Linked DNA regions of Homo sapiens: all the other regions are linked to region 1. Evidence: promoter capture Hi-C in 16 types of primary human blood cells and fetal thymus (Javierre and others, 2016). All regions are on one chromosome and are shown on one strand. The core of a region is centred on a gene start or on the middle of the fragment in contact, and the rest is flanking DNA. Distances in the headings are between cores, read along the strand shown.

What was found. Contacts are between HindIII fragments. The CHiCAGO score rates a contact against its expected background, and 5 or more counts as called.
Region 2: a fragment that was not itself captured here is called in contact with the fragment with the promoter of APP in region 1 in 2 of 17 cell types (naive CD4 T cells and fetal thymus); the score reaches 9.2 in naive CD4 T cells.
Region 3: a contact is called between a fragment that was not itself captured here and the fragment with the promoter of APP in region 1, in 2 of 17 cell types (megakaryocytes and endothelial precursors). The highest score is 7.9, in megakaryocytes.
Region 4: a contact is called between the fragment with the promoter of JAM2 here and the fragment with the promoter of APP in region 1, in 1 of 17 cell types (erythroblasts). The highest score is 5.2, in erythroblasts.
Region 5: a contact is called between a fragment that was not itself captured here and the fragment with the promoter of APP in region 1, in 1 of 17 cell types (endothelial precursors). The highest score is 5.0, in endothelial precursors.
Region 6: a contact is called between a fragment that was not itself captured here and the fragment with the promoter of APP in region 1, in 1 of 17 cell types (fetal thymus). The highest score is 5.8, in fetal thymus.
Region 7: a fragment that was not itself captured here is called in contact with the fragment with the promoter of APP in region 1 in 1 of 17 cell types (naive B cells); the score reaches 7.0 in naive B cells.

What each region holds. Positions count from the first base shown.
Region 1 is chr21:26,168,820-26,172,317 of GRCh38, reverse strand. It overlaps APP (amyloid beta precursor protein), which reads left to right and starts at 1,548. Exons shown (of 18, transcript NM_000484.4): 1 at 1,548-1,754. The coding sequence starts at 1,698. APP-DT (APP divergent transcript) reads right to left here and starts at 1,451. Exons shown (of 4, transcript NR_186396.1): 1 at 1,266-1,451. RefSeq lists silencers at 1,196-2,025, 2,526-2,795 and enhancers at 1,813-2,337, 2,836-3,045. The HindIII fragment of the contact is 2,642 bases long and covers 1,063-3,498 here.
Region 2 is chr21:25,591,067-25,594,897 of GRCh38, reverse strand. MRPL39 (mitochondrial ribosomal protein L39) reads left to right here. Exons shown (of 10, transcript NM_017446.4): 7 at 940-1,005; 8 at 1,933-2,086. Among named protein-coding and RNA genes, the nearest start is that of LINC00515, 9.8 kb to the right of the region's middle. The HindIII fragment of the contact is 925 bases long and covers 1,174-2,098 here.
Region 3 is chr21:26,699,760-26,703,255 of GRCh38, reverse strand. No RefSeq gene overlaps it. Among named protein-coding and RNA genes, the nearest start is that of CYYR1, 130 kb to the right of the region's middle. The HindIII fragment of the contact is 2,709 bases long and covers 127-2,835 here.
Region 4 is chr21:25,636,942-25,640,774 of GRCh38, reverse strand. It overlaps JAM2 (junctional adhesion molecule 2), which reads right to left and starts at 1,517. Exons shown (of 10, transcript NM_021219.4): 1 at 887-1,517. The coding sequence starts at 953. RefSeq lists enhancers at 535-604, 507-1,007, 1,745-1,884 and a silencer at 1,335-1,524. The HindIII fragment of the contact is 2,383 bases long and covers 1-1,708 here.
Region 5 is chr21:26,730,198-26,733,792 of GRCh38, reverse strand. No RefSeq gene overlaps it. Among named protein-coding and RNA genes, the nearest start is that of ADAMTS1, 110 kb to the left of the region's middle. The HindIII fragment of the contact is 2,152 bases long and covers 622-2,773 here.
Region 6 is chr21:25,568,664-25,572,326 of GRCh38, reverse strand. MIR155HG (MIR155 host gene) reads right to left here. Exons shown (of 3, transcript NR_001458.3): 2 at 2,406-2,490. Among named protein-coding and RNA genes, the nearest start is that of MIR155, 3.5 kb to the left of the region's middle. RefSeq lists a silencer at 3,063-3,112. The HindIII fragment of the contact is 6,296 bases long and covers 1-3,663 here.
Region 7 is chr21:25,418,120-25,421,655 of GRCh38, reverse strand. LINC00158 (long intergenic non-protein coding RNA 158) reads left to right here. Exons shown (of 5, transcript NR_024027.2): 4 at 856-948. Among named protein-coding and RNA genes, the nearest start is that of LINC00158, 12 kb to the left of the region's middle. RefSeq lists an enhancer at 1-110. The HindIII fragment of the contact is 2,988 bases long and covers 15-3,002 here.

The sequences.
Region 1 (3,498 bases), core at 299-2,798:
CCTGTCACTTTAGGCTTTTCCCTGCTGTCCCAGCTTCATGTCACTTACTTGCTATTAGATTTGGGAGTTCATTAGCTTCATTTTCCTGATGTATAAATAGGAATAATAGTAACAGCCTCTTTGGCTTTTGTAGGAAGTAAATGACATGAAGCGTATAAACAAATACTGCATGACAATAAATATTTGTCCTTATTTGTTGAGGACATCCAAAGGACATTCAGGGGCAAAAGTAATCCAAGAGTCAAGACTGAATGCCTAGTGCGGGAAAAGACACACAAGACAACATTTAGGGGAGCTGGTACAGAAATGACTTCCCAGGAAGGAAGTCTGTACCCCGCTGGCTGAGCCATCCTTCCCGGGCCTAGGCACCCTTGTCAGCGCAATGAGCAAGGGAGAGAAGGCAGGCTGCAGTGCAGCCCTCAGAAGGGCCAGAGCACTCCCTGGCTTCAGTCCTTCGCTCCAAGCCCTGTGTGGAGTGGGCTGTGGCTTGGTAACTAAATGCTACTTCAGGTCAAGAGCAGGGGATATATCTGGGCAGTTCTAGAGCATTCTAAACTATCTGGACACTAACTGGACAGTGGACGGTTTGTGTTTAATCCAGGAGAAAGTGGCATGGCAGAAGGTTCATTTCTATAATTCAGGACAGACACAATGAAGAACAAGGGCAGCGTTTGAGGTCAGAAGTCCTCATTTACGGGGGTCGAATACGAATGATCTCTCCTAATTTTTCCTTCTTCCCCAACTCAGATGGATGTTACATCCCTGCTTAACAACAAAAAAAGACCCCCCGCCCCGCAAAATCCACACTGACCACCCCCTTTAACAAAACAAAACCAAAAACAAACAAAAATATAAGAAAGAAACAAAACCCAAGCCCAGAACCCTGCTTTCAAGAAGAAGTAAATGGGTTGGCCGCTTCTTTGCCAGGTCCTGCGCCTTGCTCCTTTGGTTCGTTCTAAAGATAGAAATTCCAGGTTGCTCGTGCCTGCTTTTGACGTTGGGGGTTAAAAAATGAGGTTTTGCTGTCTCAACAAGCAAAGAAAATCCTATTTCCTTTAAGCTTCACTCGTTCTCATTCTCTTCCAGAAACGCCTGCCCCACCTCTCCAAACCGAGAGAAAAAACGAAATGCGGATAAAAACGCACCCTAGCAGCAGTCCTTTATACGACACCCCCGGGAGGCCTGCGGGGTCGGATGATTCAAGCTCACGGGGACGAGCAGGAGCGCTCTCGACTTTTCTAGAGCCTCAGCGTCCTAGGACTCACCTTTCCCTGATCCTGCACCGTCCCTCTCCTGGCCCCAGACTCTCCCTCCCACTGTTCACGAAGCCCAGGTGGGCCGTCGGCCGGGGAGCGGAGGGGGCGCGTGGGGTGCAGGCGGCGCCAAGGGCGCGTGCACCTGTGGGCGCGGGGCGCGAGGGCCCCTCCCGGCGCGAGCGGGCGCAGTTCCCCGGCGGCGCCGCTAGGGGTCTCTCTCGGGTGCCGAGCGGGGTGGGCCGGATCAGCTGACTCGCCTGGCTCTGAGCCCCGCCGCCGCGCTCGGGCTCCGTCAGTTTCCTCGGCAGCGGTAGGCGAGAGCACGCGGAGGAGCGTGCGCGGGGGCCCCGGGAGACGGCGGCGGTGGCGGCGCGGGCAGAGCAAGGACGCGGCGGATCCCACTCGCACAGCAGCGCACTCGGTGCCCCGCGCAGGGTCGCGATGCTGCCCGGTTTGGCACTGCTCCTGCTGGCCGCCTGGACGGCTCGGGCGCTGGAGGTGGGTGCCGCGCCTCGGAAGGCGGGGGGAGGCTGCACGGTGGGGACGCGATACCCCCCAAGACCTTAACCCAAGTCTTTAATGCAGAGAAGCCGGGGGTCCGTCAATGGGACCCCTCTCCTCTCCGCCCCCGCTTGCGGACGTCCAGCGCATCCCCGCTTTCGGCCCAGCCCTGCCCCAGGGAGTCGCGCTCCGGCCCGCTGAGAGGGAGCGGGCGAGGCGCTGGTCTCCCTGGTTCCGCGCCAGCCCGGGGCGAGAAGGGTAGGGGGCGACCCTGAGCCCAGACCCCGACTTAGTCCCTGCCTTGGAAGCGGGGGTCGGGGGAGGCGAGAGACATTCAGACAGGGGGGAAGGGGGAAGGAGCACGTGGGGAAAACCGAAAACGCAGCGTCCCTAAAGCCAGTCCTTCGCTCTTGAATCGTTGCCCTTTCCTTTCTCTTGGGCCCTGGGGAGGAGGAGGAGGAGTCGGGACAGCCCAGGAAGCTAGGAGCCCCTCGCTTTTCCCTGCGTTCTCCGCCTCGTTTCACCTTCCTCTCTCACCCCCATCCCCCTTCCTTGCTCCAACCTCTTTTCGCGGCTGCTGGCGGCGGCAGCCTGGGTGCGACCCTAGCCCGAGCCGGCGTCGGGGTCGCGCACCGCCTTCCACAGGCAAACTTTGTGCATGTCCGCGTCTCCCTTTTGTGTAACTTGCGAGAAATGGGAGGGGTCGGAGACCCATAGCCACCCCGCGCCTTCCCCAAGTCTGGACGTCCCGGGAGTTCGCTCGCACCCTAAGCTCTGTCTGAGAGGCAGAAGGTCCGCGGGAACAAAAGCCGCGACACCCCGCCCTCGCCGTGGGCCGAGCCGCGTTAGTCTCAGTGCGCCACCGAGGCTCCCGCCCGGCTCCCTTCCCGGGGCTGCGCGTCCGCCTGGGAGGGGGCAGAGACGCTGCCGGGGCTTCTGGCGGAGCCTCGGGGCCCCTCTGCTTCCCACCCTCGGATCACCTCCGAGGCTTAATTCTGTGCTGGGCTGTAAAGTCCTTGGCGGGGAGGAAATAAGGCGGAGAGTGGGATGTGCGTCTGGAAAGGGCAGTGGCGGATGGTGGGGAGGCACGGGCTCTGTCCTGTGCATCCAAGGAGGCGTTTGTCTGATTAAGGCGCGGCCTCTTCCCTGGCAGCTCTGGGGACTCTGGTTTAGTTCCCCTGGGGGCACAGGATGCTGGGGAGGGTCCGAAGGGTCTTTTTTTTAGGGTGCAGATAAAAGGATCGAATTGAGTGAAGATTAAGACGGAGAAGATGGCGCCTCTGCAGTGCAGCAAAGAAAAGCTGTGTGGAGGCTGCAGCCTAGTGAAATCCACCCACCACTAGGTGTATAACAAGTCTTCCCCATTCATCCAACTCTCGAACATTCAGCTAACGCCTGTGCACAATGACTGTTTTTCTTTACATCTGAAGATGCTTAGAAGTTGTTTGCATGACAGTTGGGCCAGAGGAGGCTGTATTTCACTTCGGACTTCGGTTGGGTTCCTGTTTGGCATCTTAACATTTGCAACCTTCCTTACCCGTTTTTCCCCTCTTTTCCCCCAGCCTCCTAGTAATTTTCCAAAAGAAAAAAAGCAATTTCCGGGCAGATGTTTTCCTGTAATTCCACTGAGGCTGTACAGACTATCACACCATTAGTTTTTTAGTTTCTAATTTGCAAGGTCATTGAACTTTTTTCTCTTCTGATTTTTACCCACAAGTGGCTCAGGAATCACCTTAGGGCT
Region 2 (3,831 bases), core at 387-2,886, 580 kb after region 1:
CTAAGACAGGAAATTCAGGAGGAAGAACAAGTTTGGGCGGGGAAAGAGGTGGTAATTTGTGCAGTTTGCAAATTTCAGGGTAAGGTGCTTGTGGAACATCCTAGAGGATGTCCAAATGGGTCTTGGATATACAGTTTGGTGGTCAGAAGAGGTAGGTAGATTAGAAGCAGAGATATAGGACATACAACTACATAAGTTGTAGCTCAAGGGGCTGACCTAGGGAGGATGCTTAGCGTGAAAAGAGGGTGTAGGATAGAATTCTCAAAGGGTAGAGAAAGACAGGAGTGGCCAGAGATGTAAAATAACAAGCAGTAAGGAATGCCACTGATACCCATGGAAAGAGCACTTTGAGGCTGGATGTGGTGGTTCATCGCTATAATCCCAGCATTTTGGGAGACTGAGGCAGGAGGATTGCTTGACACCAGGAGTTTGAGACCAGCCTGAGCAACATGGCAAGACCCTATCTTTACCAAAAAAAGTTAGCCCGGCATGGTGGCTCACACCTGTAGTCCCAGCTACTTGGGTGGCTGAGGCAGGAGGGTCGCTTGAGCCCGAAGTTTGAGACTGCAGTGAGCTATAATTATGCCACTGCATTCCAGGGTGGGTGATAAGAGTAAGACCCTGCCTCAAAAAAAAAAAAAAAAAAAAGAACAAAGAAATAAAAATGGAAAGAAAGAACACATTGAGAAGTGGAGGTGAGCATTGGTATTAAGAAAATGAGGACCAAAAAATGTCCACTGGGTTGACACCAAGCAGGTCTGTGACTTTGTTGAGAACAGTTTGGCAGAGTCATGGGGCTGTGGCCAGATTAAAGGGAGGTTCCAAGTGTAACCTACTCTCAGAAAGTATGGCTGAAGAGGAAGAGAAAGGGAGGTATCTTTAAACACCTTTTTACATATTTTGAGTTAAAAAAATGTTTTTTTCTTTGCTGCTTTTCAGGTACAAAGTAGATTTCATAGAAGAGAAGGCATCTCAGAACCCTGAGAGAATAGTCAAGCTACACAGGTAAGTAAAAGTCTAAAAACTGGCTGCTATGTTAGAGTAAGGCTTAGCTTTATTGTTATCTGAATGAAGCATATGACCAAAAAAGATGAATTTGTGTCTTATTTTGTTCTTATTACCTTATTTTTGGTTGCTTCGTTCATTGTTTTGTTATGGTGGTAAATGGAAGCTTTAAATTATCTTCAGGAACACTTGTGGTTTCTATAATCCTCATTTTATTGTTTGCTATTTTTATTTAATTTTGAGTTGAAAACCACTGTTTAAGAATGTAATTTTTAGGTGTTTTGAAACTGGGCAAGATAGTCATTGTGATGAATTGAACATCGTAATTCATATGAATACTGACTAACTAGTAATTACTTAAGATACATGTAAGTTAAGCCAGAATGTGCTTTCTCAAGCATGGATGAGAAAGGTCCACTGCTTATGATGACGTTCTCCCATGGGGAGCAAGTCCCAAGACAATGCATTCTGCAGAAATGACTTCATGACCTGGATCCATTTTCTCAGCCTCCTGTTTTTATGAATTGGACTTCACTTTTTTCCTCTAGAAACTGCCCTTTGTTTCTGAACACAATCTGTCCTACACACTGAATTCTCAGCTTCGTTACATGGGTTATTGTAAGGTTGTAGATGATCGGTTTTAGGCAATTGGATCAGCTTGATAGCATGATGTGTTGCGTGACTCTTAAAGACCTTAAAACCTATATCAATGCTAATTAAGAAAATGGTTCATTTGATTTAATTTTCAAAGTTTTAGCCTCTTTACTTGAGATCATTATGTCAGGGGTCATTAGAAACTGAATTGAACCATATATAATGTTCTTGATTAGGGATGTTAGCAGCAAAGAGAAGGAAGAGATTTCTTTTTCAAGCTCTTACAAATTATTTGATGTTGCAGTTTTGTTTATTTATTTTTAAATCAATCAGAATAGGTGACTTCATTGATGTGAGTGAGGGCCCTCTTATTCCAAGAACAAGTATTTGTTTCCAGTATGAAGTATCAGCAGTTCACAATCTTCAACCCACCCAGCCAAGTCTCATACGAAGATTCCAGGGCGTGTCTTTACCTGTTCACTTAAGAGTAAGTAAAGCTTAAAGTTCTAGGTCTTCCAATTTGGGTATAGATATAATTCCGGACTTGATTTTATACCAGTTTGAAGAATATAAACTTTTAATTTTTCTTAAGTTATGTGACACTAATATTTTATAAACTCAGGTTTATGATTAAAAACAAAGTTGCCCAGGGTGTAAATATACAATTACAAAAGAAACATTAGTTGAAAAAATTAAATTGACATAGCATTTAAAAATTTCAAGTTAGCATAGGTGAGGGTACATTGACAGAGGGGGTATTAGAGTGCGTATTGGTAAGACTTCCTGGAATGCCTTTTAAGCTTAAATTTGGCATGCTCTTCCCTCTAATTTTAATGATCCATCATGACCCGAAGCCTGACATTTTCCACATTGCTCCCACCCCTTGCTAATCTTTTTATTTAAATTTTTGATTTTGAGATAATTGGGTTATAAGACATAGAGAGATCCCATGTACCTTTACTTGGTTTCCTCAATGGTAGCATCTTGCAGTACTAAAATACAGTATCACCACCAGGGTATGGACAGCGATACAATGAAGATACAGGACAATTCCTTCACTACGGGGATCCCTCATGTTGGCCTTTTATAGACACACGCATTTACAGCCACTTCCCTCTGTTGCCCCCATTACCCTGCCTGCTTACCCCTGCCAACTACTTATCTGTTTTCCTTTTCTATAATTTTGTCACTTCAAGAATATTGTATGAATGGGATCAAACGGTATGTAATTTTTTGGGATTGGCACTTTTCACTCAGTATAATTCTCTGGAGATTTCATCCGAGTACATTGAGTATATCAGTAGTTCATTCATTCTTATTGCTAAGTAGTATTACTTGGTCTGGATGTATCATGGTTTGTTTAACCATTCATCCATCAAAGGACATCTGAGTTATTTTCAGTCTTTGGCTATTACAAATAAAGCTGCTGTGACATTGTGTGCAGGTTTTTGTGAATATTTCTCTGGGATAAATACCCAGGAGTGCAATTGCTGGGTCATATGATAAGTGTATGTTTAGTTTTTTAAGAAACAACCAAAGTGTTCCAGAGTGACGGTACCATTTTACATTCCCACTGGCAATGTGTGAGTGATCAGTTTTTCCACATCCTCACTAGCATTTGATGCTGTCACTACTTTTTTTTTTGTTTTAGTCATTCTGATATGTTTGTAGTGATTTCTCATTGTAGTTTTAATTTGAATTTCTCTGTTGACCAATGGTATTGATCATTTTTTCATGTACTTATTTGCCATCTGTATATCTTCATTGGTGCAATGTCTGTTTATGTCTTTTGCTAGTGTTCTAATTAGATTGTTTTACTTTTTAACAGTTGAGTTTTGAGAGTTCTTTATATGTTGTAGATACTAGTTTTTTGTTAGATATGTAGTTTTCAGATTTCTCTCTTTTTCTGTCTGTACCTTGTGTTTGTATATGTGGCTTGTTTTCTCATTCTCTGAGCAGCCTTTTGCAGAGAAGTTTTTAATTTTGATGAAACTAGTTTATTAAAATTTGATAACATTTTTGTTTTTATAGATTATGTTTTTGGGGTTAATTCTAAGAACTCTTTGACCAGTCCTACATCCCAAAGATTTTCTCCTTTTTTTTTTCCCTCCTAAAAGTTTTAGAGTTTTACATTTGTTTAAATCTGTGGTCCATTTTGAGTTAATTTTTCTATGAGTGTGAGATTTAGGTTTAGGTTTTTTTTTTTTTTTTTTTTTTTTGTGGGCTATAGAT
Region 3 (3,496 bases), core at 232-2,731, 530 kb before region 1:
GTAGTGGGCACTACTGTAAAGATACCCCAAAATGTGGAAAAGACTTTGGAACTGGGTAACAGGAAGAGGTTGGAACAGTTTGGAGGGCTCAGAAGAAGACAGGAAGATGCGGAAAAGTTTGAAGCTTGCTAGAGACTTGTTGAACGGCTTTGACCCAAAATTCCAGGCGGAAGTAGTCTCAGATTAAGATAAGGAACTTATTGGGGACTGGAGCTAAACTGGTTCTTGCTATGCTTTAGTAAAGAGACTGGTGGTATTTTGCCCCTCCCTGGAGATTGTGGGACTTTAAACTTGAGAGAGATTATTTAGAGTATCTGGCAGAAGAAATGTCCAAGCAGCAAAGAGTTCAAGAGTGACTTGGGTGCTGGTAAAAAGGATTCAGTTTTATGTGTTCACAAAGACATGATTTAGAAATGGAACTTAACATTTAAAAGGGAAGCAGAGGATAAGTTTGGAAAATTTGCAGCCTGATGATGTGATAAAAAAGAAAAACCCACTTTCTGAGGAGAAATTCAAGCTGGCTGCAGAAATTTGCATAAGTTATGAGGAGCCAAATGTTAATTACCAAGACAATGGGGAAAATGTCTCAAGGGCATGTCAGACACCTTCACTGCAGCCCCTCCCATCACAGGCCCAGAGCCCTAGGAGAAAAAAAATGGTTTCCTGGGCTGGGCCCTGGGCCCCCCTGCTGTGTGCAGCCTAGGGACTTACTGCCCTGTGTCCTAGCCACTCCACCCATGGCTGAAATATGCCAAGGTACAGTTCAGGCCATTCCTTCAGAGGGTGCAAGCCCCACACCTTGGCAGCTTCCATGTGATGTTGAGCCTGCAGGTGCACAGAAGTTAAGAATTGAGATTTGGGAATCTCCACCTAGATTTCAGAGGATATATGAAAATGCCTGGATGTCCAGGCAGAAGTTTGCTGCAGGGGCAGGGCCCTTATGGAGAACCTCTGCTAGGGAAGTGCAGAAGGGAAATGTGGGGTTGGAGCCCCCACAGAGAATCCCCACTGGGGTACTGCCTAGTGGAGCTGTGAGAAGAGGACTACCCAGACCCTAGAATGGTAGATCCACTGACATCTTGCACTGTGTGCCTGGAAAAGCCACGGACACTCAATGCCAGCCCATGAAAGCAGCCAAGAGGGGAGCTGTACCCTGCAAAGCCACAGGGACAGAGCTGCCCACGGCCATGGAAGCCTACCTCTTGTATCAGAATGACCCTGTATGTGAGACATGGAGTCAAAGAAGATCATTCTGGAACTTTAAGGTTTAATGACTATCCTATTTGTTTTTGGACTTGCATGGGGCCTGTAACCCCTTTGTTTTGACCAATTTCTCCCATTTGGAAAGGGTGTATTTACCCAATGCCTGTACCCCCATTGTATCTAGGGAGTAACCAACTTGCTTTTGATTTTACAGGCTCATAGGTCGAAGGGATTTGCCTTGTCTCAGATGAGACTGGACTATGGACTTTTGAGTTAATGCTAAAATAAGTTAAGACTTTGGGGAACTGTTTGGAAGGCATGATTGGTTTTGAAATATGAGGACATGAGATTTGGGAGGGGCTAGAGGTGGAATTATATGGTTTGGCTCTGTCTCCAACCAAATCTCATCTTGAATTGTAGCTCCCATAATCCCCATGTGTCATGAGAGGGGCCAGGTGGGAGGTAATTGAATCATGGGGGCGAGATATTCCCATGCTGTTCTCATGATAGTGAATAAGTCTCTTGAGATGTGATGGTTTTATAAAGGGCAGGTTCTCTGCACATGCTCTCTTGCCTGATGCCATGTAAGCATTTGCTCCTCCCTTGCCTTCCACCATGACTGTGAGGCCTCCCCAGCCATGTGGAACTGTGAGTCCATTAAACTTCTTTTCTTTATAAATTACCCAGTCTTGAGTATTTCTTCACAGCAATACGAAAATGGACTAAAACACTATGATAATTTTTTTTGTTTGAAATATAAACCATTATGAGGAATGCTAAATTAAACTTGTGAAAAGGGTAATATTGCATTTTTAACTCTATAGCATATTCAAGACAAAAGACCTAAATTTTCCATGGAGTTTCTCTACTGTTTTCACCTCAAAATAAGTCCATGGAGAGAAACTAAAACTAGTCCCATGAAAGAGAATTTTGCTTTGATAATGGCCAAACCTCTCTAAGATATGAGTTTTGTAACCCATGCTGTCCATTTCCACAATGAGTTAAGCCACCAGGGTTCCTGTTAACATACTGTATTAGTCCATTCTCACATTGCTAAACGGACTTACTTGAGACTGGGTAATTTATAATGGAAAGAGGTTTGATCGACTCACAGTTCTGCATGGCTGGGGAGGCCTCTGGAAACTTCCATTCATGGCAGAAGGGGAAGCAAACACAACCTTCTTCACATGGCAGCAGGAGAGAGATGTACTGAGAAAAGGGGGAAGCCCCTTATATTAATAAAACCATCAGATCTTATGAAAATTCATTCAGTATCACAAGAGCAGCATGAGGGAAACTAACCCCATGATTCAATTATTTGCACTTGATCCCGCCTTTCACATGTGGGGATTATTACAATTCAAGGTGATATTTCCGTGGGGACACAGAGCCAAACTATATCACATACATTGATTATTTTTTTTTTCTATGTCAGAATGTTCTGATTGTGCTACATGAAAGTCTGCATCTATAAAAATGACAGACTTTAGAAATCTCCAAGAATCTTCCCTATCAATTATCAGGTTTACAGATCAATATGCAGATAAATCAAGACAAATTTAACTTGCTTGGATGAAGAGATGGAAATTTTGTGCAATGAGATGTTGCAGATTATAAATTTTAAAAGAAGCTTCCAGAAAGAGAATACAATTCACCTAAATGATGTATTCTGAACTGCATTAATCTGTAAGATTTTTCTTTGCTCTCTACCTATACATATACACTGCTTACATTGGAAAAAAAAAAAAGCCTGCTTTATATGAATATAAAGTGAATATAAAGCAAGATATGCAATAAAATATTCATAATGCCAAACTTCCAGGTCTCAATACATGCTCTTTCTAGAATATCAAATATAATGAACCCTCCAATTAGAATTAGGTTTGGTTCTTTTTCATCCATTCATATTTTACATTACCTGAGTGTGTGCATGCTATATATAGCTGCCCTTTCTTCATGTAACCTTCAGCTATCTTGGATGAATTTTAAAACTCCCTTTGCAAATTCTTATAGCCTTTTAGTATTAAATAAGTCCTCACTGACATTTACAAGTCATACCATTTACAAGAGTGCACTGTGGACTTCATGTTTATTCCCCATTCATTGCAATAAGATGTGATGTTTAATGCTCTATTGATTATTGCTGCAGTAACAAGTGACACTTTTAATGAGTTATTTTCTTCTCTTGGCTTCATCCTTGATACACATTACACAGTAAACTATACTGTACCTTAAAAACATGCTTATTTGCATCCAATAATAAGGTTAAACAACTCACTTTCTTAGGTTGATG
Region 4 (3,833 bases), core at 268-2,767, 530 kb after region 1:
GAAAAAAGCAAAACAAAAAAGGTGAGAGAAAAAAGAAAAAGCAAAAGTAGAACTGCATTGCTTAGTCTATTGTAATTTCCTCCATTTTCCTAAAAAGTTAACGCGAAGAAAACAAAATAACGGCAACGTTCCCAGGATTTCAAATCTCATGAGTCCAGAATCCGTGAAAATCCTGTTTAAAATCATCCGGTGAAATTGGCTTTGGGACGTCTCCCCAGCTACTGGATCATGTGGCTTCTGAATCTTTCTAACAATCGTCCCGTTGGATGTCCCCTGAGGACAGAGCAGCTGGCTAGAGTCCCCAGACCAGACTTCTCTAAGTGAATGTAGATGTGCAGGTGGAGAGGATAAAAGTAATTCTGGCTCAGCAGCCACGAATTCCCTCCACCTCCGCCCCACAAGTGCGCTGCATATCGCCGGCTCAGCTGGGACGCTACAGAGCCCAGACCACGCGGACGCTGCCCCCTCCCCGGGGACTCAAAGTGTGGCCGGCGCCCGCCTCCCAGTGATGCCATCTTTCTTGGGGTCTTAGCATCTTACCAGTGGGTAGTGAGTTTTGCATTCGAATCACGTCCCTCTGTCTGAAAACTTACCCCAACTTTGCAAACAGATGAGAACCTGCTAGTGGGAACCCTTAATTTTCTGTATCTAGAACTGACAAAATCAGACGCAATTCACAAGAAACCCACGACCTCGCGCTCCCTTGCTCCCAGCGTCCGCTCGCGGGCACCCTGGGTTTCCCGCTCGCCTGGGCGCAAGGTCAGACGCCCCGCGGCGACCTCGGCCCAGAGCCGCCCAGACACTGTCAGCCAGCGCCCCGTGGGGGGCTGGAGGGTGGGGGCAGGCTGGTCCAGGCAGGAAGGGTAGAGGAACCCGAGCAACTTACAGCCCAGGGCGACCACCAGGTAGCGCAGCAGCAGCAGGAGGAGGCGGTGGCGGCTCCTCCTCGCCATCTTCCCGGGGCGGCAGCCGGCTGCTCTGAGGAGGTCGAGGGTCCCGGCGGCAGGAGCGCAGGAGGCCGGGGGCCCTTGAACTTCTGGGGCGGGAAAGGAGCAGAGAGTCGGGAGGGGAGGAAGAGGAGGGACGGCTCTAGATGGGATGTCAGTTTCCCCCTCCCCGGGGCGCCTTCTCAGCTGGCTGCCAAGAGGCGGGTCCTCCAGCCCAGGGATGGGGGTCTGTTCTGTTTTGGGGGTGTGGGGGTAGGGGCTAGAGGGCGTGAAAACCAGACGAGGCGTCCGCCGGGTCCTAGCGAGGGGGCAGCAGGAGGAGAGCAGCGCCCGGGAAAGCCCCGGCGGGTCGTCCCTCCGCCCCCACGCCTCCGGGATTGATCGGCTTTGTGTCTGGTCCGCGCGGGGCTGCCAGCTGTCCCCAGGGCGAGGAGCTGGGGGCGGGAGGCGCGGGCAGGCTGGGGGTGGGGGGATTGGGTGTCTCGGGGACGGGGATGTATGCGGGTAGGGAAACGCCTCCTGTTTTGCCCCAACTCCTTTCTTCCCCTCGTTGGCTCAAAACTTCTTTCTGGCTTTTCAGCCTAGGGGTGGAGATATTTGGAAAATTCTGCCCAACGGGCGAAGCTGAGGGGGTGGCGCTCTGAGGAGATGGGGTTCGCGGGCTCCGCCTCGAACTCGAGAAAAAAAAAAGCAATCAAGACTCGTGCTGGAAGTCAGGTCTCAGATTTTAGTACAGCCTTGGTCCCTTCTCAGTTTAAGCTTTTTGCTCCTTGGAGATTTGAGGTGCATTTGTCTCGCGTTCTTGTTCTTTGCTTTTTTTTCAGTGTCAGAGTTGGAAGTTCATCTAATGGTGTGAAATATTTATCATGTTTCTTTCAAGTTACATAACTGCTGCTTGTGGAGTTTTCCACGTGTTAAAACTCTACAGCTGCCCTTTGTCAGGTTTATTTTTGGTCTACTGTGCTTTTAAAAGGGAAACCCATTATGAATGCTCTGTTGCGTGCTTTAAAATTGCACCACACTTACATTGGACGCACGTACACTGGCAATTTTTATATTTGTTCCTAGGGACCAAAAATGTATGGTGTATTCAAGAGTATTGGCAGGTCTGGAAAAAGGCCATTCCCAGGAGAAGAAATTAGTATACATCAGTTTTTTTCTTTTGTTTTTTTGTTTGTTTTTGTTTTTGTTTTTTTTTAAAGGTTGAATAATGGATGAAGTTCTGTACAGCAGATAGTTGATTTAGTGGTGTATTTAAAAAGAATTCAGCTAGCTCAGTGGACAAAGGCGACCAGAGTTTAGCTGTGCAGAACTGTGAGGAATGAGGCATCCTTGCTGTTGCCGTGGTGACAGTGATGAAAACTTAGTACCCAGGGAGGGGGTGGGAGGAGAGGACCCAGGGGACCCAGAAAGGAAAGTCAAAATGGCAAAATGTTAAAACTCGTACTCCAGTCAACCGAGGAGAAGGGGCACAGATTTAACAACAGCTTATGCCAGTTTTTCTGGGCAGTAATGAGAAGGATTTGATGCTTAAAAAGAAAAGTTGTTGGCATCTTCTTTTTTCTAATTCTTGCTACAGCTATATGTCTTTTACTCCTCCCTAAAAATATACACAAAAATGTCATACTTAAAAAAATTCTATGCAATCCTATGTGAGTAACTGACTAAGTTATTTATTTGCCACCCAGCCAAGGCATTTGACAAATGGCAACAATGTGCTGGATGCTGAAGGACAACCATGAACAAGATAGAGGCTTTCTTGCTAACAAGCTCACAGTCTTGAGGGGAGACAGAGTCTTATCAGGAAAGATGCCTGATACCACATGGTAAATGTTACAGGAGGACAGAAAATAATAACAGCTATTTTTATTGCATGCTTTCTCAGTGATGGAGTCTGAATAACGCAATATCTAATCCCCCAACAACTCCATAAAAGAGGAAATGTTATCATTCCCACTTTGCAGATGAGAAAACTGGGCGGAGAGACACTAAATGGCTTGTCCAAGGTCCATGATAAGGGGCTGTTCCTTTTGTTGGGAGTGGGGCCAGGGCTTTCTTTATTAAACCTTGAAAAATGGGTCAAATTCTGAAGGGAAGGACATAAAGGAGAGGCATTCTACATAGAGGAAACAGCAGGATCCAGAGCTAGGAGATTGAAAAATTATGGTTTATTTAGAAAAAGCAAGGTTCTACAGTACTAAAGTGTATGTGGGATCGGGATAGTGAGGTAGGTGGTGGTGGTGGTAGAAACTGAAGGGGAGGTTAGAGTACGAAGAGCATTCACGCTACTGTCTAGACCTCATCCTACAGCTAATGAGCTTTTTGAAAGCAATGAGATAAGAAAAGACTCATATTTTAGAACTGTGGTGTCCAATATGGTAGCCTATAGATCTAAGTGGCTATATACATTTTTTTTGTTTTGTTTTTAATTTGAGACAGAGTCTCACTTTGTCACACAGGCTGGAGTACAGTGGTGCAATCTCAGCTCACTGCAACCTCCGCCTCCCAGGTTCAAGTGATTCTCCTGCCTCAGCCTCCTCAGTCCAGTAGATGGGACTACAGGCATGTGCCACCATGCAGGCTAATTTTTGTATTTTTTGTAGAGATGGGGTTTCGCCATGTTTGCCAGGCTGGTCTCGAACTTCTGACCTCAGATGATCCACACGCCTTGGCCTCCCAAAGTGCTGGAATTACAGGTGTGAGCCACCATGCCTGGCTGGCTATATAAATTTGAATTCAATTATATGTAAAATGCAGTTCTCCACTGACACTGATCACATATGAATTTCTCAATAGTCACATGAGGGTAGGGGCTACCATATTGGAAAATGTATTTCCATCATTGCAGGAAGTTCTACAAGAGAGTGCTGCTCTAGAATGATGACT
Region 5 (3,595 bases), core at 448-2,947, 560 kb before region 1:
AGATGACATCACAAATTTTAAGACAGCCCATGTGGACAGACAAAATACAGAGATTCACGCTGTGAACTTTTCTCCAAGAAGCAACACGGGAACTTAGAAAAGCTGAATAAAATCACAGACCGTTTGAAAGAAGTGCTGGGCAGCAGCCTATACCATGGTCCAGGTGGAAAACTGTGAGCCTCCAGAGTGTGAAGGGGGAGAGAATGCCACCATGACAAACACTGCCATGGAAGATCCCAGCAATCCAGGCCACGGGGGGAGGCCTTAACTCTATCTAGAATTGGAACTGATTTAGTGGGTGGTGGGGAACATATGAGAAGGAGCAGCATTTGGACAGCTTTGCATGTTCTCCCAGGCCCCAGCAGGGACAGAGGGAAGCCATTCCTCACCCTATCTCACAGGGAAGATCGCAGAAGTCTGCCAGCTAACTCAGGTGGCAGTCACATTTTGAGAGAAGCTCCCAACTGAGATTTGCGATATAATCTTCAGCGGAGATGAACCCCATCGGCCAGAACTGAGGGGTAACTGGGAAGTGTGCTGTAGCCACAGGCACAGAAGCTGAGGGCCTCTGCTTCATGAATGTGGCCTGAAAGCCCAGTTTCTGTCTTGGTCAGGAAAGCTTATGGCCTGGGGCAATCTGAAGTTCTGACTGCAGGCTGCCTGGAACCCAGCAAGCTGCTGCTAGCAGAACACTGCTGATGTGAGACCTGCCTTGCCAAGTGTGTGGGAGCAGAGTGGGGCTTACCGCCACCTGCTACACTTCACTCCCCATGTGGATTCTTCTGTGCAACAGAAGCAGCTGTGCTGCTCTGTGGAACATTACCCCAGGGGCCGGGGAACTGACCTCTGATTTCCACTGGGGCAGCTGCTTGTGACTCCACATGGGAAGCCAGAGCACAGACGGCCTGACCCACCCCCGCCGGGCTTTGCTTCTCCACCTGTCCTTGTAGGGTAACACAATGGATAGAGACATTTGAAAGTTCCGTGGCCCCACACATCACTTCAAACACCAGAGCACCTCCTTGGGTAACAAAAGGCAAGCAAAAGCAAAAATTCCACTGCTGCTATCACAGCTTGTGGTCTTTCGCAGGCGCCACCTCCTGGCTAGAGGTTAAATGACACAACCCAATACAATATCAGCCGGTTCCGTTAACATCATGCTCACAAAGGAGAAAACTTCTGTGCAACCCCAGTTTGAATAGAGACTAACATGACTGTGGTCACACTGGCTAACCAGGAGGTGTTGAATCTGTCTACATGACCAGTACAGCTGGCATTTGTGAAGGCCACAACACTAAGGCTATTTATAACCAAGGAATCTCACAGAATCTACATGACTCCTCTCTCACCCCTATCAGATCTGGTGCTGGGAGACTTGAAGGACAGGTCACATCACTCGATCCCTTGTAGACATTCCCAGCATCAAAGTATGGCAGCCCCACTGGGTGGTTAGACCCAGAGGAGCAGCAGGAGTCACAGTAGGCTGGTGCTCAGGGACTGCTACTCCTAGAAAAAGAGGGAATGTACCACATTAAGGGAGCATTCCATGGGACAAAAGAAACCACACTTCAGGCCTTGGGTCCCTACCTTTTCACTGTGGAAAGTTTCTTTCAGCAGTCACAGCAGCAGTGCTGGACTCAGTGTGGAAAGTTTGTGGGGTCTACCTCAACGGTTAGGCAGCCCTGGTGCTCATGAACAGTCTTGGAGAAGGGGACTTTGTGATGGTTAATACTGTGTGTCAACATGATTGGACTGAAGGAAGCAAATTATTGCTCCTGGGTGTGTCTGTGAGGGTGTTGCCATAAGAGATTAACCTTTGAGTTAGTGGACTGGGAGAGGCAGACCCACCCTCAATCTAGGTGGGCTCCATCTAATCAGCCGCCAATGCAGCTAGAATAAAGCAGGCAGGAGAAGGTGGAAGGAGCTGACTTGCTGAGTCTTCCGGTCTTCATCTTTCTCCTGTGCTGGATGCTTCCTTCCCTCAAACATTAGACTGCAAGTTCTGCTTTTGGACTCTTAGACTTACACTAGTGGTTTGCCAGGGCCCTCAGGCCTTCAACAACAGACTGAAGGCCACACTGTCGGCTTCCCTACTTTTGAGGTTTTGGGACTTGGACTGATCCACCACTGGCTTCCTTGCTCCTCAACTTGCAGATGACCTATCATGGGACTTTACCTTGTGATCATGTGGGTCAATTCTCCCTAATAAACTCCCTTTCTTATATACATATATCCTATTAGTTCTGCTTCTTTAGAGAACCCTAATACTGATTTCTTCTCCCCCGCGTCTGCCACTCCAGACATAGCTGAATGTCTCCCATGGGAGCTTAGCATGGGTGCATCCGTAGACAGCCTTTCTGGAACACTGCAGGATGCATCCCCACAGTAGGAGCGCCCTTGATTCAGGCTTGGCTTGCACAAGACGTAGAGTCACCATCCCTGTCTACATGAAGCAGATAAAGAGGTGTTTGTCTAATCTGAGTAGCTGGAACATGGGGTCAAGAGTGTAACTGGGATGAATTTCCTGAAGGGGAGGTATGGTGGCTTTCTCCCTTCCTTCTGAAAAGACCTCAGTGCATTTCACTGAGAGATTCCCCAGCTGGGACCTCTGGTCACCACTGGGGTATTGAACTTACCCATCTGCTTTATCCTTGGCCAGTTTTTCCTCATGGGCACCTCCTAATGGCCCAAAGCCTGAACTGTTCAACCCAGTGAGTAAAACAGTGGGGAAAACATTTATAAAAGTGCACACCACTGGGAAATGAGATAAGCTTCCTGAGACCTCTGCCACTTCAGCCCCACAGGAGACAGTGAATCTGCTCACACATCCAGCATATCATTACTAAATCCTCATCAGAGCAATTCATCACACAAAGATTTTCTACAACTGAAAACTCACACAAAGTCTTCACCACTGAAAACACCTACAGCCAAAGGTAGATGACAACAGCTTATAAATGTTAAAGTCTCATCCTCAAGGGGGAACAAAAATTTAAAACCCAGTCAAATAAAAAGTAAATTCAAAAATAATTAGAAAAAAAGTAAGTAAATGAGAAGGAACAAGAAAAATGATTCTGGCAATATGAAAAAATCGGGTTCTATATCAGCCCCAAATATCACATTTACTCCCAACAGTGGAGCCAAACCAAGATGATATCTTTGAAATCTGCGACACAGAATTCAAAAGGTTGATTATTAAGTTATTCAAGGGAATACAAGAGAATGGTGAAAACCAACATAAATAAATTTAAAAATACAATTCAGGATATGAATGAAAAATGTTCTAAAGAGATATTTTAAGAAAAACCAATTATAATTTCTGGAAATGAAAGATACATTTAGGGAACTATGAAATGCAGTGGAAAATTTTAGCTATAGACTACACCAAGTAGAAGAAAAGATTTCAGAACTCAAAGGAAAGACTTTTCAATTAACATAATCAGACAAAAATAAGAAGAAAAGAATCAGAAGTGAAAAATGTCTCCAAGAAATATAGGATTATGTAACATAGCCAAACCTAAGAATCACTGGTTTCCTGAAGGAGAATAAAAAGCAAAATGTTTGGAAATCCTATTTGAAGGAATAATTGAGGGAA
Region 6 (3,663 bases), core at 664-3,163, 600 kb after region 1:
AAAACATGTCACACAGGTCCCCTTTTGTTCTCAAACACAACCTTGTCATACAGGCATGATGAATTCCGAACACTGCAGAGAAATGAGAAGTTTGTCTAAATATACTATAGAACCTTAGGTCATATTTAAAACACAATGATAGATGAAAAACATTAATGAACAGAAGAAAGGAGAAATATCCCAGAAAAAAAAAAAAATATATATATATATATATATATTCTACAATTTAAAAATAGTAGACTTTTAAGGACATTAGAATGACTAGAAGGTCATTCATTCATCAGTGTGGAGTCTATGTCCACTTCCAGTGTTTTTGACTGGGCTAAGCAACCAACAACAGAATTGCTATATGCCTGAGTGGGAATTAGTGGTCATAGACAACAAAGGCCAGTCTATTAGCCAAGGCACTGGGCAGAGGGTGCTTTCATGAGGTAATAAGAAATAAAGTAGTTCTTTCTGGAATCGGTGTGGCCACCAGCTGGTAAAGTGGCAGGGGAAGAATTATACACAATTATAGGCCTGACAATCAGTAGTGACAGTGCTAACCAAGTAAGAATGTGACAAGCATAATGTTTAATGTATAGCAATGCAAGAGTAATTTATATGAATTATATATTAGAAATTAGACTGGGGTCTTTGACTAGGTAGTTCTGCAGATATACTTCCAGTCCCCTCACTCCACAATACTTCTTAGGCCTACCACATGAAATATCCATTGTCAGTATAAGTTTTACTGTGTAGCATAGGTTCCAAGTTAAATGTTCTTAACAAATTACTACACACTGTCTGAGTATCAAAATCATTCCTTCTCACAGTAGGTAAAAATCTACCAAGAGGAAGCACTATGTATACTAGATTAATGATAACACCAAGGATCTTTCATTATATGACAGGCAATTCTTCCTCTGGTGCTAAGAATGAAGCTGAAGGTGGCACTTTGGGAAATTTTTCCTTAAATTATGCTTTCCTGAAGGACAATTTTTTTGGGGGGGGTGGAGTGTGAGCATAAGATTTAAGAATATCTGGCTGGGTGTGGTGTCTCATGCCTGTAATCCTAGCATTTTGGGAGGCCGAGGTGGGCGGATCATGAGGTCAGGAGTTTGAGACCAGCGTGACCAACATGGTAAAACCCCGTCTCTACTAAAAATACAAAAAAATTAGCTAGGCGTGGTGGCGCACGCCTATAATCCCAGCTACTCAGGAGGCTGAGGCAGGAGGATCACTTGAACCTGGGAGGCAGAAGGTAGTAGTGAGCCGAGATTGTGCCACTGCACTCCAGCCTGGGCAACAGAGCAAGACTCTGTCTCCAAAGAAAAAAAAAGATTTCAGAATATCCTTTTATTCTTACCTTGTTGATTTGCCAGGAAAGACGTTATCAAAACTATATATTCAGAGCATAATATGTCCTAAGTTTGTCATTAAAGTTCTGGTTTTCCTTCAAAAATTTTTTATTGTGGTGAAATATGTAATGTAAACATAATGTAAGTTTAACATCTTCACCATTTTTAAGTGTACAGGTCCGCTATATTAAACACTTAGTCATAATGTTCTACAACTATCATTATCATCCATCTCCATAACTCTTTATCTTGTAAGGATCTCATTTTATGTCTAAATCATAGGTTATATTCTTCTACAATTATATATATTTCTATATTGCTGCTTATTCTCAGCACCAACCATTTAATATTTGCATACCAAAGGAACTGCACACCATAAAGTTTTCTTTAAAAAAAGTTACAGTGGTCGAATTTCATAACCAAAGCGATTGTGGGATAGCTCTAATTTTATTTACCTTGAAATATACAAATAATTTAAAACTATTAATTTGTTGTTACAAATCAACTGTACATCTATTTTTACTGAAAGTCATCTTATATTGATGTAGCAATACAAATTCTAGGTCCAAAGCCATTTTAGTAGGTGAAATGGAATGTAATTATGTTGTTGAAAATTAAAGTGATTTAGTTTAGGTAACTTTCTCTGCATATTTTCCCACTTTAACATTTATGTGTACCAATCAAAAACATAATCATTAAGATGGAATAATGTTGATTCCTATTTGGATCAGTTTGCTAAAAGCAATTAGCATATACTTGTATATGTGGAAACAGTATCTGCCTTTTCTATCAGAATTTATTCTGATTCTCTATATTCTGCCGCTGCAGTTTTGGTTTACATCATGGAAGTAAGCAGTGATTAATGCAAGTGTATAAAAATCAGGATTCTGTGAAACTTTGGACTTGTCATAATCTTTAGAATAACAACGATTTCTTGGTTACCTTTTGAGGTAGAATCAAAAGTTGAAAGCGGCTGCCAACTTGGTGCCCCAATGACCTGCCTTTATAAAAACTGCATCTGTCAGCGTGTTTCCCTTCCCTTTTACTTAAGATAGAATTCCTTACCATTAGAGCCATCTCCATTGGGTGGGAGAGCCAAGGTGACAGGTAAGGTCTCTGGTAGGTTGTTCTTGAAATGCAGACAAGTTATCTGGGGAAAAAGGGTTGGGGTTGAAGTTGACACATCACCTTAGATGTGTTTATTAGGTTAGTTAGTCATCTTTGAAAGCAGAGGTGAAGGGCTGAGGAGAGAGGACCCGGGATAGGTGGATTTTAATGGGAATAAAGAGTAATTTAGAGGAAAGATAAGGATGTACCCCAAATAGTTTGATAGCTCAATAGTTTTTTATTTATAATTTAAGCTCACACTTTTCATGTCCAGCATAAAGCAGCAACAAATTAAGTATTTAGACTATCATCTGAGTTTTAGTTCTCTGAGTTTCAACCTCTCTACATGCTGTAAAATGTCATATAAAGTGTTTAATTTCTCAGAAATTCTTCAGGAAGACTTGCAATGTTCTCTGACAAAAAGAAAATCCAAATGACTGCCTTTCTAAAGTGTATTCATTTGTGTAAAGTTTATCACATATTTTCTGTAGAATATGATTCTGTGTTACATCTCAATAACTGACATTAAAGATGAGTCAACTTCTCTGCTACCAGGGAATGAGGTAAAGAGTATTATGTTTCCTCTTGACTTCACATGAGTTCCATCATTAACAAGGGATTGATGGTGTGACTTACTACTGATTGAGATGGTGGCCAACTGGCGTCACATCTTCTGAAGTACACAAACTCATCTTTAAAGGTAAAAATGGATTGTTCTGTAGGAATAACTTATATCCTGAAATCTTGGTGAATGATAAGATTACCACTTTTCAGATCATTAACTTTACATATAAGAAAAATTCCCTGAGTAAGCCATTGCTGGGGGAAAAATTATAAACTTTTCATGTCATGATACTTTATTTATTTCCATAAAAACTTAACATCACTTCTTGATATTTTCTAATTGAGAGCTCTTTATTGAAAAATAGCAACTTTCTAAATTAAGAGCTCCTTATTGAAAATAGCAGTTTGTGCACACAATAGCATAACATTCTTTTCTGTATTTTGAGAATTAAGAAAATAAATGTTTTTAAAGATATATGCCAATAGTGATATTTAACACATAAAGGTGTGATGTATTTTTGAAGTGTCTTAGAAGAAAGCCAATGTGGATATTGCAGGGTCACTGTGGAAATGTGTATCAGTGACCGTTTAGTTGTAAATGCACAAAAGAGAAAGAATGTCAGCCTTAGAGGATTATCCTGCTTTTCCCAAT
Region 7 (3,536 bases), core at 259-2,758, 750 kb after region 1:
GAAGAAGAAAAGCTTCACTTCTCTGGAGACAGGAAGTCTGAATTCTACTCTGTGGCTGCCACTTACAAGTACATAGGAACTGAAAACAAGGACACCATGTGAACTTGTATGGCCACTTTCAACGCTGAGCAGTGGCAGATGCTTTTGGTACTTTGCATCTCTTCCTCTCGGCCCCTTACTGATTTCAGCCACTGTGTCAGTGGACAATCTCTCAGAGTTCAGAGACTCATCTCTTGCTGGCAGCTATCTCCTGTTTTCCTGGGATTTGGCTCAGGAAAGAGGACACTGGAAGAGGCAGGGATTTTTGTCCTTGGGCAATCATTAACCAAGGACAATGGGAAGCTGTTGGAGAAAATTTTCAGCCTCTTGTCTTTGGCCAGAAGTGGGAGAGGTGGAAGGGGATGACTGCAGGGCGTTTGGTTTGCTTCTCAGAGGGCCCGGCAGAAAAAACCCACATTTATAACACAGCCTTATGTTTCCTTTCCTTCTTCTCACTCTTCTGCTCATTTATTTCAGCTTCCTGATATCTCCTTCCAAATAAACCACTTGCCCCCAAGTCTAAGTCCTTGTCTTAGGCTCTGCTATGGGGAAGACTCAAACCAAGACACCAGCCTAAGCGGCAGGGTTCTTAAGTGGTAACCTAATAAGGCCAGTACTTTTCTGTTTTGTTTCCACATAACACGTAATATGATTTTCCTCCCAGCCTGTGCATGCATTTTCTCATTGATGGTTAGGTCCAGCCAAGGACAACTTGACGGACTATTTTTTTTTTAATTGTCATTGTCTTAGAATATCTTCCCTCTATTTACTAGGCAAGATTTATGTAATTTTTGTATTTGTCTCATTTGTTGACAGGGAACCCTGAGCAGAACACATGCACAAACTCATGCCATACCCTAAGGGACAAGGTTCCCCACATCTACTTGGAAATCTTTGGGATGCTCAATGGTAAGTACTGTAAGTTGCAAGATTTCAAAAATATTCAGGAAGAAGAAATTTGTGAGCCAAGTAGCTCCAAGTCATTCAGCCTTCTGAGGTTACGCTGTCCTTTCAAATACAAATTCAATAAATGAGCCCTTCTTCCACAAATTCAATAAGTGATGCAGTTGACTAATACCCTTTCTCGTATTTCCCTGAGTCAATGAGTGAAAAGAAGTGGGTACAAGATGCTCTTGGCTTATATATTCTCCCATTTGACAAACTTCCTAGTATCCATTTCCTATATCACTTTCTTTAGCTCTGGAGCTATTATCCTCCTGGTACCTGTCTCCTGCCTATACCAATTCATTCCAAGCCAGAAAGGAGTACCTTTCCTTCAAAACCTTCTGTATCATTAACTCAGGGCTGTAACAGAGAATTTACTTTACCTGAAGGTTTGGTCATGTAGCACAAATAAGGAAACGACCTCAAATAGAATAAGTGAATCACCTTTCCTAAGTTCATTAGCCATTTCTGCTTTAGGGGACTGATATTTTTTATGCTTTTTTTTTTTTTTTTGGCTCCTGGCCTGCTACTATTTTTGTGGGTCTGCTCTCTTGTGCCACAGTCTTTTCCCCCTTTTCTTCAAGTCCTTAAATTCACCTCCCACCCATTTCAGACAAAACCTTTTTACAACACACATTATTACTGCATGTGGAACTTACCGATCATTTGTTAAATGGAACAATTTAGCTATTTAGCTTCCTTTGTGTCAACCTTCTCATTCCAGACTCTGCCCTAGACATTGCCTTTTGTAACAAAAAGTCCCAATAAAATGTTCTCTCAAACAAACTGCGGGTTGGCAATGCACATTTAACAATATAAGGATTGGCAGAAACTTTGAAAATCACAGCTCTTCTTTAACTGTTTAAAGATAAAATTCTTAGGTGGTCTCCAGGTCGAAGCATTACTCATGACTGCTCTGTCAGGGGCTTTGTTAGAGGAAGCAGGATGGTGGCAGAGTTCTTTGCTCCTTCTCGGGACATAAAATCTGCGGGTCAGAGTGGCCCCACCTGCCTCCCTCTCTTCCACAGTCAAACACAGCCTAGACTGCCTGATTTGGGGTGCAGTCCTACTGACAGCTCCACTTTATGTCTCTGGTGGATTTCTCAGGTTTGCATCATGGTCAGGGACCAGAATAAAAGAAAGTGAACTGGGAAATTTTTAGGGTCAGAAAAGGAGTTTTAAACTCATACACACTTTATCAAAATCTTTTTTTTTGAGACAGAGTCTCACTCTGTCGCCCAGGCAGGAGTGCAGTGGCACGATCTTGGCTCACTGCAAGCTCCGCCTCCTGGGTTCGAGTGATTCTCCTGCCTCAGCCTCCTGAGTAGCTGGAACTACAGGCATGTGCCACCACATCTGGCTAATTTTTGTATTTTTAGTAGAGATGGGGTTTCACCATGTTGGCCAGGCTGATCTCGAACTCCTGACCTCAAGTGATCCGCCCGCCTCAGCCTCCCAAAGTGCTGGGATTACAGGCATGAGCCATCGTGCCCGGCCAAAATCTCTTTTCTTGAGTTGGGCTTATGGTGTGGCACTGACTGCTGTTGGACTGCTGCATCACGAGGCTAATAGAGCTTTTCTAAAATTCAGCAATCCAGGCTCTAGCTTCTGAGGATGTGTGGGGTGGGAAATGCAGGGAGCTAGTATTGCTGAGATCTTCAGACTCTCTCTGAATACTTTTCCTAGACCCAATCTCTTTCTCCCTCCTTTCTGAGACTAATCAGTGACACAGATATTAGATATTTGGTGATTGTCCCATAGGTCCCTGAGGCTCTGTTCAGTTTTTTCCCAGTCGATTTGCTCTTTGTTGTTCAAATTGGAAAAGTCCTATTCTACAACTTCACTGATCCTTTTTTCCTCTCCATTCTGCTGTTGAGACTATCCATTAATTTTTTTAAGGTATAGTATTTTTCAATTATAAAATTTCCATTTGGGTCTTCTTTATATCTTCTATCTCTTCACTGAGACTTTCTGTTTTTCGTTTGTCTCAAACACATTCATAAGTGTTTATTGAAGCTTTTTTATAATTGCTGTTTTAAAATTATTGTTAGATATTCCTGGCCTTTGTGTCATTTTGGTGTTGGTGTTTGTTGATTATCTTTTCTCATTTATGTTGAGATTTTCCCAGTTCCTAGTATAAGAGATTTTTGATAGAAACCTGGACATTTAGGGTATTATCAGACTCTGGATCTTATTGATCTGGTATAACAGTCTTCTTCTGGTAATGCTTTGGTGGGTGAAAGGGGCACTGTCTCCTTATTTCCAGGTGGGGCTACAAGTATTGAAGTCCCAGTTCCCAAGTCAGCCTCTGTTGACTCCTGAAGATAGGCAATTCTTATTACTGCTGAATGGGCAGGAGACTTCAGGCTTTTCCCTGGTTCTCTGTGACATCACCCTGGCATGGAGAGGCAGGAGTGGCTCCACTGTCACTATGAGACAAGGATGTCCTTTTTACCACTGAGCTTGTTCTAAGTTTCCTCTGGACCTCCTCTGTTGATAAGCTAGTGGGGACTTGAGGAGTGAGGCTGGAAGTCCAGCCTCCCTGCCAACAC